Linked DNA regions of Homo sapiens: region 1 is linked to region 2. The links are contacts of gene promoters, found by promoter capture Hi-C in blood cells and fetal thymus (Javierre and others, 2016). All regions are on one chromosome and are shown on one strand. Each heading gives the region's core, a stretch centred on a gene start or on the middle of the fragment in contact. The rest is flanking DNA. Distances are from core to core; before and after follow the strand shown.

Region 1 (5,068 bases), core at 56-2,555, 260 kb after region 2:
GCCCGCCTCTTTAGCATCGGCCGCTCGGTGGAAGGCCGGCCGCTGTGGGTGCTTCGCCTCACCGCCGGCCTGGGGTCGCTAATCCCTGAGGGCGACGCGGGGCCTGACGCTGCCGGGCCCGACGCTGCGGGGCCGCTGCTGCCCGGCCGGCCCCAGGTGAAGCTGGTGGGCAACATGCATGGCGACGAGACCGTGTCGCGCCAGGTGTTGATCTACTTGGCCCGCGAGCTGGCGGCCGGCTACCGCCGCGGGGACCCGCGCCTGGTCCGCCTGCTCAACACCACCGACGTGTACCTGCTGCCCAGCCTCAACCCCGATGGCTTCGAGCGTGCCCGCGAGGGCGACTGTGGCTTCGGCGACGGCGGCCCGTCCGGGGCCAGCGGCCGCGACAATAGTCGCGGCCGCGACCTCAACCGAAGCTTTCCCGACCAGTTTAGCACCGGCGAACCCCCCGCCCTGGACGAGGTGCCCGAGGTGCGCGCCCTCATCGAGTGGATCCGCAGGAACAAGTGAGTGTTGCCTGCCCCCTCCCCGTCCGTGTGAGCCTCCAAGGGCCGAGGCTGGTTCCGGCACCCAGTAGGCGCTCAGACAATGCTGGCATAAGGGGTGGCGGTGGTGAAGGTGAAGGGAGACACCCTGTAACGGGGACAGGGCCCAGGCCGCGTAGCCTCCCGTCCTGCTAATCATCAAAGAATTGCCTCCTAGAGGCTGTCATTTGTTCAAGGGATGGCTGGAGGGGACACTCCTTTCTGACATTTCTGGTCCCTATTCTTACAGGGGCATAGAATATGAGCGAGAAGAGATCTTAAGGATAACCTAGGTCAGCTCACACATTTTATAGATAAGCTGTCAATGTTGTTATCTTATATCAAAAGTGCCTAATGTTATAGGCGCTGTGCTAATTTTTTCTGTGACTGCAGTATCTCACTTTATTTTGGCCACAACCTGATGTCATAGACACCATCAGTTTTGCATACGGGGAAATTGAGGGTCAGATTGGTTAACTGATTTACATAGGAGTGTGGCTGGGACTTAGAATTAGGCAATCTGATTCCCGATAGTCCTCTTAGCCACGGAGGGACACTGGAGCCCAAAAATGGCAGATGATATTCCCAGGATCTTCCCCTTGCCTATTTGACAGAAGCTGATTTTTCTCCAATTTTTACCTCTGACTCAGCTTAAGAAGATATGGACTTAGCTGGAGAACTTGCACAGATCTGTGAGCCGCTTCATTTTAGACTCTGAAGGGTTTGTGATGTCATTTGTGCACCTTATTAGCCTGGGCAGAATGGCTAATGGTCACACTTCTAATACACACTTTAAGTGTTATTAAGCATTGCATGAGGTTTAAAAAATTACAAAGTAGAAGAAGGAGGACCTCAAGAAATTAGTATAAAACAAGAGAATGTTATAAATATTTATGAGGTATGTTGGTGTACCCAGTTAAACTTTACAGGAATTGTTCCCACTGGCAAGATGTGTGTGGGCTGCAATAACACGGACCATCTCTGTGGAAGAGGTAGAGCTTGAGCTATCTCCAGAGATGGGCAGGATTTTCAGCAAAAAGGAGAGGAATAAAATAAGAGGGAACTCACTCCAGATGGCATAGTGTCTGAAGTGAGCAGGCATCTCTTCCCCTTTTCTAGCATCAGCTTTTCCCCATTTTTGTATCTTCATAAGGCTTTTGAAGCAATAACTGATCATTCCATCTGGATTAAAAGAAGATTTCTGAGGGACTGCTAAGATAAAGAAGTTTCCCTGCGGGACTTGGAATCATTTCTTCTACAAGATTTCAGTCATATATAGAAGATCTAGAAAATTCTTGAGTGTTAGGACAGTTCCTGAGTCTTTTCGTCTTCTATCTTTTACTTTACTCCTCTTGATAAGCTCTCTTGTAGATATATAATTTCACATAGACTTTCTGGGAGGATTTTTTTTTCTTTTAAATACGATCGTGTCATCACCTCTGAACATCTGCGTAAGAAATATGACTTTGACATACACTTATTGACAGAGCTGTGATGGCCAGGGCTTTTTGGAGATGATACAACAAATGCACCGTTTGCATTGCTTAAATGTTTAAAATGCTCTGTCCTTGCACCTTTAAAATGCTGTGATCCTTGCAGGGATGTAAATTCTGTGCCTGGATTTTTCTTTTCAGTATTAGTTGTGCTGTGACCAAATATGAAAATAAGCTTTTTCTTGGTGCAAGTCGCCTTGAGGCTATACAGAGTCATTTTGGTCTGTGGCTGTGGACTACCCTAATCATATCTGTTCTTCAAATATGTAACTCTCATTAATCAAAAGGGAAAGTAGGTGATCATATATGGTAAAGAGTACATCCATCCTAACTCAGTCTTCAAGAATTCACTCAAAATGCGTACTCTGTGCTATTAACCAATAACAAAGGACACTGATATGTGAATAAAATTAAAAACACAAGCACACACACAATTTGATATTGATGCCTAAATATAGTGTCAACTTTATGGATGGGATATTTTTAAATACTCAAACATTAGTCTGTATGGGAAAACTACCTTTTTCAGTGTATTTTGTGAGGTAAACCATTTGAGTAATTTCTTGATATCCTATTCACCCAGCTATATTCGAATTAGATTTTTGTTGTTATTTCGAATATGTAAAATTTTAAGGCTTAATTTCCTCCAGCTTGGGAAAATGAAGTTTATTTTCTTTGTTTCACTTTATACTTCATCCAATGGATGTTGAGACAAATACTTAAGAAAATATATAAAAAAATTAACTTTATCATTCAAATGAAGATTTTATAGTTGACTCCTATTTTTTTATAGTTGACCGCTATGCTTCTTTAAGTGAATATACCTGCTTAAATTTTCATAGGTAATTAGCATATAAATGATATTTGAATGTGTTTGTGAAAAGCATTATTACAGTGTTGAGAGTGGGTGCAGATGATTTTTTTGGGGGCTTATGTATACATATCTATGATTGTCTGAATCTTTGAAATTTAGTTTGTCAGATATCAAGTTATCTTAATTTTTTTCAAGTTATCTACAGGGTTACCTGGATAGCGTAATAGAGTTAATTTAGAGATTAACTGTTTAATATTTATAAACTCATTTGTAATATCTCTAATATATTTACCAGCTACTTTAAATCTTATGCAAGGAATGATATGTGATACTGAAGTCAAGTATGAGAAACATTTCAGAGAATTGATTTGAATGGAAACCATAAAGTACCTGTCAAATAAGATTGGAGTTGATTTGCAAAGTTGATTTGACAAAAACTCAAAGCATAATCTTACAGCCATTGTAGTCACTTTCTCTTGAAATCTTCATTGTAAGAATGACACTGGTACTTTCAAAACTGTGTAATTACAGTAAGGAAAATCGAAGTGAATTTTATTACTCAAGTAGATTGCAAATATTTCATTGTTCAAAAGTATTTGATTAGGCCATTTTGACAATATTTCTGAGAAGTGTTGGAAGAAATGTTGAACAAAATGAGAAACAGCATTTTGTAGAGAATCTTGGATTTTAAAGTTTTACTTAACATGTGTAATTAAAGTAGCATGCTTTACTTATTTAGAATATTTAATTATCCATTTTATTTTACTAGAATATGAATGCCCAGAGGGTATTTGTTTGTTTGTTTCGCTCACAGATGTATCTATCCCTGGAATGTCCTTTGGGATGTATCTGTCCCTGAAACGTCATTTGGCAAATAGTTGACACTCAAGAAATGTTTGTTGCCGAATGGATTACCTGACCTGCCCCAGCCTTCTTATAACTTTCCCAGAGTCAGTGGGGGAAAAATACTTAAAAATTGTTTTAGAATTACAAACCAGAGAGTAAATTGTTAATACCTTAGCTATAGGGGAGAGGTGGTTAGAGTGGAGTTAGAAAGTTAGAATATTTACTTAGTTTTTGTTTCTGTATCATTCTATTACCCAAGGACTGGCAGTGGAAGTGGGGAGTAGAATGATAGTTTGTAAGGCAGTGTTTCCTTAAACAGGATGCTAGATACCTCCAAAGAAATGAACATTTGTTGAGCAGGGGCTATAAAGTAGTCTTTATGCCAGATTATGTTTCATGTGTGTTATCTTAATTTTCATGACAACTCTGGGAAATGGGTAGCATTAATCCCCATTTTACAAATGAAAGGAAAACTGAGGTTCAGCGAATTTAAAGGCAGTAACTTCTCCTGATTATGTTATATTACTGGTGAGCAACAGATCTGGGAGACGGAATGTTCTTACCCAAATTTGTCTCCAAAGCCTGTGCCATTGCCACTACACCAAATGGCATTCTTCTCTGGTGTCTGGAAGGGTGCTAATTATAATTATATTAGTTTTTAGCTAGTTTCTTTTCATGGTCTATGCTAGTGTTTAATCAGTGTCCTTATTGGCAAAGATCTGTCTTCTGATGAACAGATTTTGTGTTACAAGTAATTTTCATTGTTTGATCTTCTCTGGGATAATACTACTCATCATGCTTAAAATAGTCTTTCAAATTAGACATGATAGGTTTACTTTTTTTTCAAGCATATAGAAAAATCTTATATATCAACCCCCTTTAGAATTTCTGTAGGTCAGTTAATTTCAACAACAGAAAGGCAGAAGCAAGAAAATCCTATTTAGAATGGAAAAAGAAAAGTATTTAATCTCTACTGATAGTAATGGTTTAAGCTGTTATATAAGGGAAAGATGCTTAAATAGGACTTTAGCATTTTTTTTGCCTTTAGGTTTTAGCTTTTACCATAAAAGGAATTCTTCAGTATTTCTATATAGATAAGTTTGACCAAATTGTAAATTGGTTCACTTAAAAGTAGAAGCATTAAAAAAAATGTTTCTTTTACAGGAGCAGCCTTGCCTCCATGTCAATTTATTTTTTTAATGGCCCAATCAGAAACATTGGGCCTTGAAAGAGCTGCTTCTACAGTGATGTATTGGAGGACTAGTCTTTGACATGGTGTATTGTTTTTCTCTGTAAGCAGCTCACTGAATCAGGTTGTTTTCTTTGTTTGTTTTTTTCCTGAATCTTCTCAACTATGGCTTCTCTCTTGAAAATGTGAATTTAGTATA
Region 2 (5,510 bases), core at 2,818-5,317:
GGAAGATCCAAGGGTTTCGGTAATGGATCCAATTTAGTCAACTGTTCTGTTCTGGAAGTTTAAGATGATTGGAAATTTCTGTTGTATAACATCCATGAGGATGGTAGTGATGATACTATCTTTTACTGGTTTACCCAGCTTGTCCTTACAGCATTTCTTGTTAAAGTTTCAAAAGTTGGGTTCTAAAATGTTAAGAGGCTTCTCTGTGCCCTTACTCACTGCTGCAGTTACCACCACTGCTGCAGACTCTACAACACTGCATCTGAGAAACTGTCCCTTCTAGCCTAGGGAAAATCCCATGACTGCTTCATTAAAATGTCCCAAAGGCAATGGAAGAATACAGAATATAACAATTGAAAAACTCAAATTATGTAGGATATTGAGTTCTCCCCTGGGTAATTATGGGTAACTAATTCCCCATTCAGTCTATTCAAGCAAGAGGCAGGCAGCCCTGGCAGGGGGCTTTATTTTTTACTCTTTATTTTAAGCAAAGTAACACATACTCATAAAAAGTCATTCTGTTATACAAGGTCTGTTGAGACCACAGCATTTCCCAGCCCCACCTTACCTTTATTTTCCTTGCTTCTGAGTCAGCTACTTTCAATTCTTTTTGCTCAGGAGTTGGTAAACAGCCCATTGGCCAAATCTGGCCAGCTGCCTGGTATGGTAAATAAAGTTTTATTGGAATAGCTATGCCCATGTCTGTGGCTGCTTTCACATTACCAGGGCAGAGTTGAGTAGTGGCCACAAAAACCATATGGGTCACATGGACTAAACTATTTGCTATCTGACTGCAGAAAAAGTTTGCCAACCCCTATTTTAGCTGTGGTTTTGACATTTACCTCTATATTGTTAAATTACATGCTTGTGTGGCTACTTTTGTTTTTCCGATTTAGGCAATATCTATTAATCTCCCAGTATACAATACAAAGATTTAGCTCCTTCCTCAGCATATATACACACACGCTTCCCATCCATTCTTCCCAATATTATTACATGGTAATGTAATCAGAATAGATCAATATTCAGTGTTTATATTATCATGATTATGTATGCTATTTACAGCTTAGCCATGTTGTAAATTACAATTATTTTCCATTCCTGTACATCCTTTTGCTTTCCCTAGAGTTAATGTCAAAAGAAAACTGGAGTGCTATAATATCACACAAGTAGATTTCAGAGCAAAGAATATTATAATGATAAAGGTTATTTGATAATGAAAAGTCAATTAAGAAGACATTACAATCTTAAACCTAATAACAGAGCTTCAAAATACATGAAGCTAAAACTGATAGAACTTCAAGTCTATAGACATAAAATATTTACCTAGGACTGGGGGATTTGGAGGAAAATAGGAGTGACTAATAGGTATATGGTTTCTTTGTTGGGTATTAAAAATAATCTAAAATTGGCCAGGTGCAGTGGCTCACACCTGTGATCCCAGCACTTTGGGAGGCTGAGGCGGGTGGATCACCTGAGGTCAGGCGTTTGAGACCACCCTGGCCAACATGGAGAAACCCTGTCTCTACTAAAAATACAAAAATTAGCTGGGTGTTGTGGCGGGCGCCTGTAATCCCAGCTATTTAGGAGGCTGAGGCAGGAGAATCGCTTGAACCCAGGAGGCTTGAACCCAGGAGCTTGCAGTGAGCTGAGATGCACCATAGCTCTCCAGCCTGGGAAACAGAGCAAGGCTCTGTCTCAAAAAACAAAAACAAAACTAAAATTGATTGTGGTGAGGGTAGTACAACTATGACTATACTAAACATACAACTTGACTATACTAAACCCCACTGAATTGCACACTTTAAATGAATGAATTGTATGATATGTGAATTATCGCTCAATAAAACTTTTTAAAAATATTTTTAAAAATATTATACTAGATAGAAATCTGAATCTATACAAAGACATGGAAACACCAGAAATGATAAATATGTGGGTAAACGTATTTTTCCTATTCAAAAAAATCTTTTTAAAAACCAAGTTACTTTTTATAGCAAAAATAATTTATTGTGCATTTATGACATAGTGACAATAGCACAAAACTAGGAGATAAAATGGAAGTATACTTTTCTAAGCTTCTTATACTATACACAAAGTGGTAGATTCTTACTTTAAGGCAGATTGTGATAAGTTTAAGACATATATTAGAAACCCTAAAGCAACAGCTTATATAACAAGCAAAGAAGTATGGTCAATAAACCAACAAAGGAGGCTGAAGCATGAAAATCATAAGCTGAATCACAGTTGGGAAAAATAGAAAACAAATAGCAATCATACTTTTTTTTTTTTTTTTTGAGATGGGGTCTGGCTATGTTGTGCATGCTGGCCTCAACCTCCCAAAGTGTTGGGACTACAGGCCTGAGCCACCCCACCCAGCCTGCAATCATAGTCACTTTAATGAAAATGTTTTAAGCATCCAAATTAAATGGAAGAGACTGTCAGACTGGATAAAAAAGCAAGACCCAACTATTTTCTGTCAACAAGTGATCCAATTTGAATGTAAATACACAAATAGATTAAAATGGGTTGAAAAAGATACACTATGCTAGCATTAATCAAAAGAAAGCTAGTTATATTGATAGCAGACCAAGCAGACAAAGAAGAATAAAGGAATAAAGAGGGCCACTTCTTAATGCTATAGAGGTTAGTAGAGGTTAATGCAAGAGAACGTAACAATCCTAAATGTTTACATACCTAATTTCAAAATACACGACACAAACTGATAGAATTGAAAGGAGAAGCAAATTCGCAATTATAGTTGGAGATTTCAACATCCTTATCTCAGTAATTGATCTCTTTGGCTGCTCTGAGACTAGCTGGGAATGAACCAAGAGTGAATGAGTGCACAGATGTGGGCAGAGTTTTCAAAAAGGTATCATATATGGGCCAGGCACGGTGGCTCACGCCTGTAATCCCAGCACTTTGGGAGGCTGAGGCGGGTGGGTCACATGAGGTCAGGAGTTTGAGACCAGCCTGGCCAACATGGTGAAACCCCGCCTCTACTAAAAAAATACAAAAATTAGCCAGGCATGGTGGCGGACGCCTGTAATCTCAGCTACTCAGGAGGCTGAGGCAGGAGAATCGCCTGAACCTGGGAGGCGGAGGTTGCAGTGAGCCAAGATTATGCCACTGCACTCCAGCCTGGGCGACAAGAGCGAGACTACGTCTCAAAAAAAAAAAAAAAAAAAAAAAAGTATCATATATGATCCTGATTCCTATACCCAATGGCCCGTGAACAGTATTATTAATAATTTTGGTCCTTGGGCCGGGCGCGGTGGCTCATGCCTGTAATCCCAGCAATTTGGGAGGCCGAGTCGGGCGGATCACCCGAGGTCGGGAGTTCGAGACCAGCCTGACCAACATGGAGAAACCCCGTCTCTACTAAAAATACAAACTTAGCCGGGCGTGGTGGCACATGCCTGTAATCCCAGCTACTCGGGAGGCTGAGGCAGGAGAATCGCTTGAACCCGGGAGGCGGAGGTTGAGGTAACCGAGTTCGCGCCTTTGCACTCTAGCCTGGGCAACAAGAGCGAAACTCCGTCTCAAAAAAAAAATTTTTTTTTTAATAATAATTTTGGTCCTATGTAAGGTATTATTAATACACAGATTTTCATTTTTCGCCTAATTATCCTGAACCAGTTAAAGTGAACACTTGGAAGGGGGTAGGGGGAATATCGATAGCCATGGCAGTGGTTTTCAAACTTTATCAGAATTACCCGCTGGTTAAAATTCAGATAACTCGCTTCACTCCAAAGTTTCTGATTCTGCAGGTTTGGGGTAGGGCCCGAGAATTTGTCATTTTAACAGTATCTCCGGTGTTGCTGATGCCGCTGGTCCCAGAACCACACACTGCGAACAACTGGCCTAGAACGTTGTCATTCCTTTCTCCTACAGATTTTGAGGCAGCCGGTGGGCTCCGAAACAAAACAGAGGTCACTGGATCCGATTCCCAGTACCATAGAAGTGACTCAAACCAGCGATTCAACCGACAAGCAGGATCCGGGCCACCCAAAGCCGCGCGAGAGTTTACGTGACGACATCGGCGTCAGCGTCACGGAGGCGTCGGCCACGTTCAGCGGACACGGGAGCAAGATGGCGATTCCGGGCAGGCAGTGAGTGATCCGGGAGTTAGGGTCAGGCTGGGGGATGAGAAACTACGGCGACTGTATCTTTGGCCGAGGAGTTTTAAATGCGCTGGAAGTGAAGGGACTGTGTCGTCAAGGGTAGAGACGGGAAAAAACGAGAAGTCCTGAGGAACATAGATTCCCCTCCCCCGTACATTTTCCCGGATGGAAGCCCGAAGTTTGAGGGAGAAACTTGTGAGGAAATAAAGGAAGTTAGGCTGAGGGGCAGAGAGCGAGACTTTTCTATTTTCCAAAAGCTCGGTCTGAGGCCCCTCAGTCTTGCTTCCTAACCCGCGCTTGAGTTTCTCCCCGCTTGGATGCTCTCAGGGGCAGTGTGAAGAGAGACAGTTCCTGGCTTCCTTAGAGGGCCTTGTTCTCCTTGGCAGAAGCTCAAGTCCTGATTCCCGCCCTTCCTTCTCGTTTTAGGAATATTGTTCTGAGAAGCCACAGAAAAAGGGTAGGCATATAGGAAATTGGGGTATACGTTGCCGCAAAAGAGACAAATACTGTACGTACTTGAAAGTTTTACCTTTGATGTGTAATCCTTACTTTTGATGCGGCCTCCCGTGATCTCCGCATCTTAAAGGCCAAAACGTGAGAAACTAAAGGAGTTGGATCTGATGGGATGGTTCTCTCAGATGCTCCGAGGCAAAGCACATGATCTTAATAAAGTGTAATGCGAACTTGCCCCATGGCTACTTGGGTTTCTCAGTTATCTTTTAAAAATTTTCGTGAGTTACACTATCCAGTCAGTTCTTAGAAACTGTGTAAGTACACAGTAGGAAAAAAAATCTAGCCATTTTCTTGACTGTTTAGACCACAAGGATAGTTGAAAGCATTTTAAAATCTTTAGTGGACATGAACTAAACTTTCCACTACACATGTTTTTTTTTTTTTTTTTTAAATGTTACTGTCACTTCGCCATCTTAAAACATTTCTGAACTTTTCATTTACTTCTCTTCTTTGATAAAAATGGTATTCGAGTTTGGCCCGTGTCCACAAATGATCACTTAGAGTAGTAATTATAGAATCTTACGGCATGTTAGAATTTTGAGATCACTGAGAAGCAAAAACAGTCTGTTACGTGTTCATAAAGCTTATGACATGTTTTGATTTGGTAGCTTCATGTGGAAGAGGTAGTAGATGTATTTGTTAACATTTAAACATAAAGGTTTAATTTCTATTTCAAAAAAAATATATGCAGGTATGGGCTTATTTTGCCAAAGAAAACACAGCAGTTGCACCCTGTTTTGCAAAAACCATCAGTGTTTGGGAATGATTCTGATGATGATGATGAGGTAAGGAAACCTATGTTTTACTCGTGCATGGTTGGAAATGTAAATTTTTTAAAAATTGAACTTGTGACTCTGATACCTTTGCCTT

The links. The method cuts DNA at HindIII sites, captures the fragments that hold promoters and counts their contacts. A CHiCAGO score of 5 or more calls a contact.
Region 1: a fragment that was not itself captured here is called in contact with the fragment with the promoter of NSRP1 in region 2 in 4 of 17 cell types (naive CD4 T cells, activated CD4 T cells, non-activated CD4 T cells and 1 more); the score reaches 8.7 in naive CD4 T cells.

What each region holds. Positions count from the first base shown.
Region 1 is chr17:30,379,218-30,384,285 of GRCh38, forward strand. It overlaps CPD (carboxypeptidase D), which reads left to right. Exons shown (of 21, transcript NM_001304.5): 1 at 1-509. Among named protein-coding and RNA genes, the nearest start is that of CPD, 2.8 kb to the left of the region's middle. RefSeq lists an enhancer at 1-538 and a silencer at 56-185. The HindIII fragment of the contact is 1,776 bases long and covers 418-2,193 here.
Region 2 is chr17:30,112,749-30,118,258 of GRCh38, forward strand. NSRP1 (nuclear speckle splicing regulatory protein 1) reads left to right here and starts at 4,068. Exons shown (of 7, transcript NM_032141.4): 1 at 4,068-4,115; 2 at 5,332-5,425. The coding sequence starts at 4,096. It overlaps MIR423 (microRNA 423), which reads left to right and starts at 4,331; the gene lies at 4,331-4,424. It overlaps MIR3184 (microRNA 3184), which reads right to left and starts at 4,412; the gene lies at 4,338-4,412. RefSeq lists enhancers at 3,579-4,778, 3,811-3,930, 3,951-4,050, 4,081-4,180 and silencers at 3,893-4,494, 4,431-4,500. The HindIII fragment of the contact is 3,145 bases long and covers 2,077-5,221 here.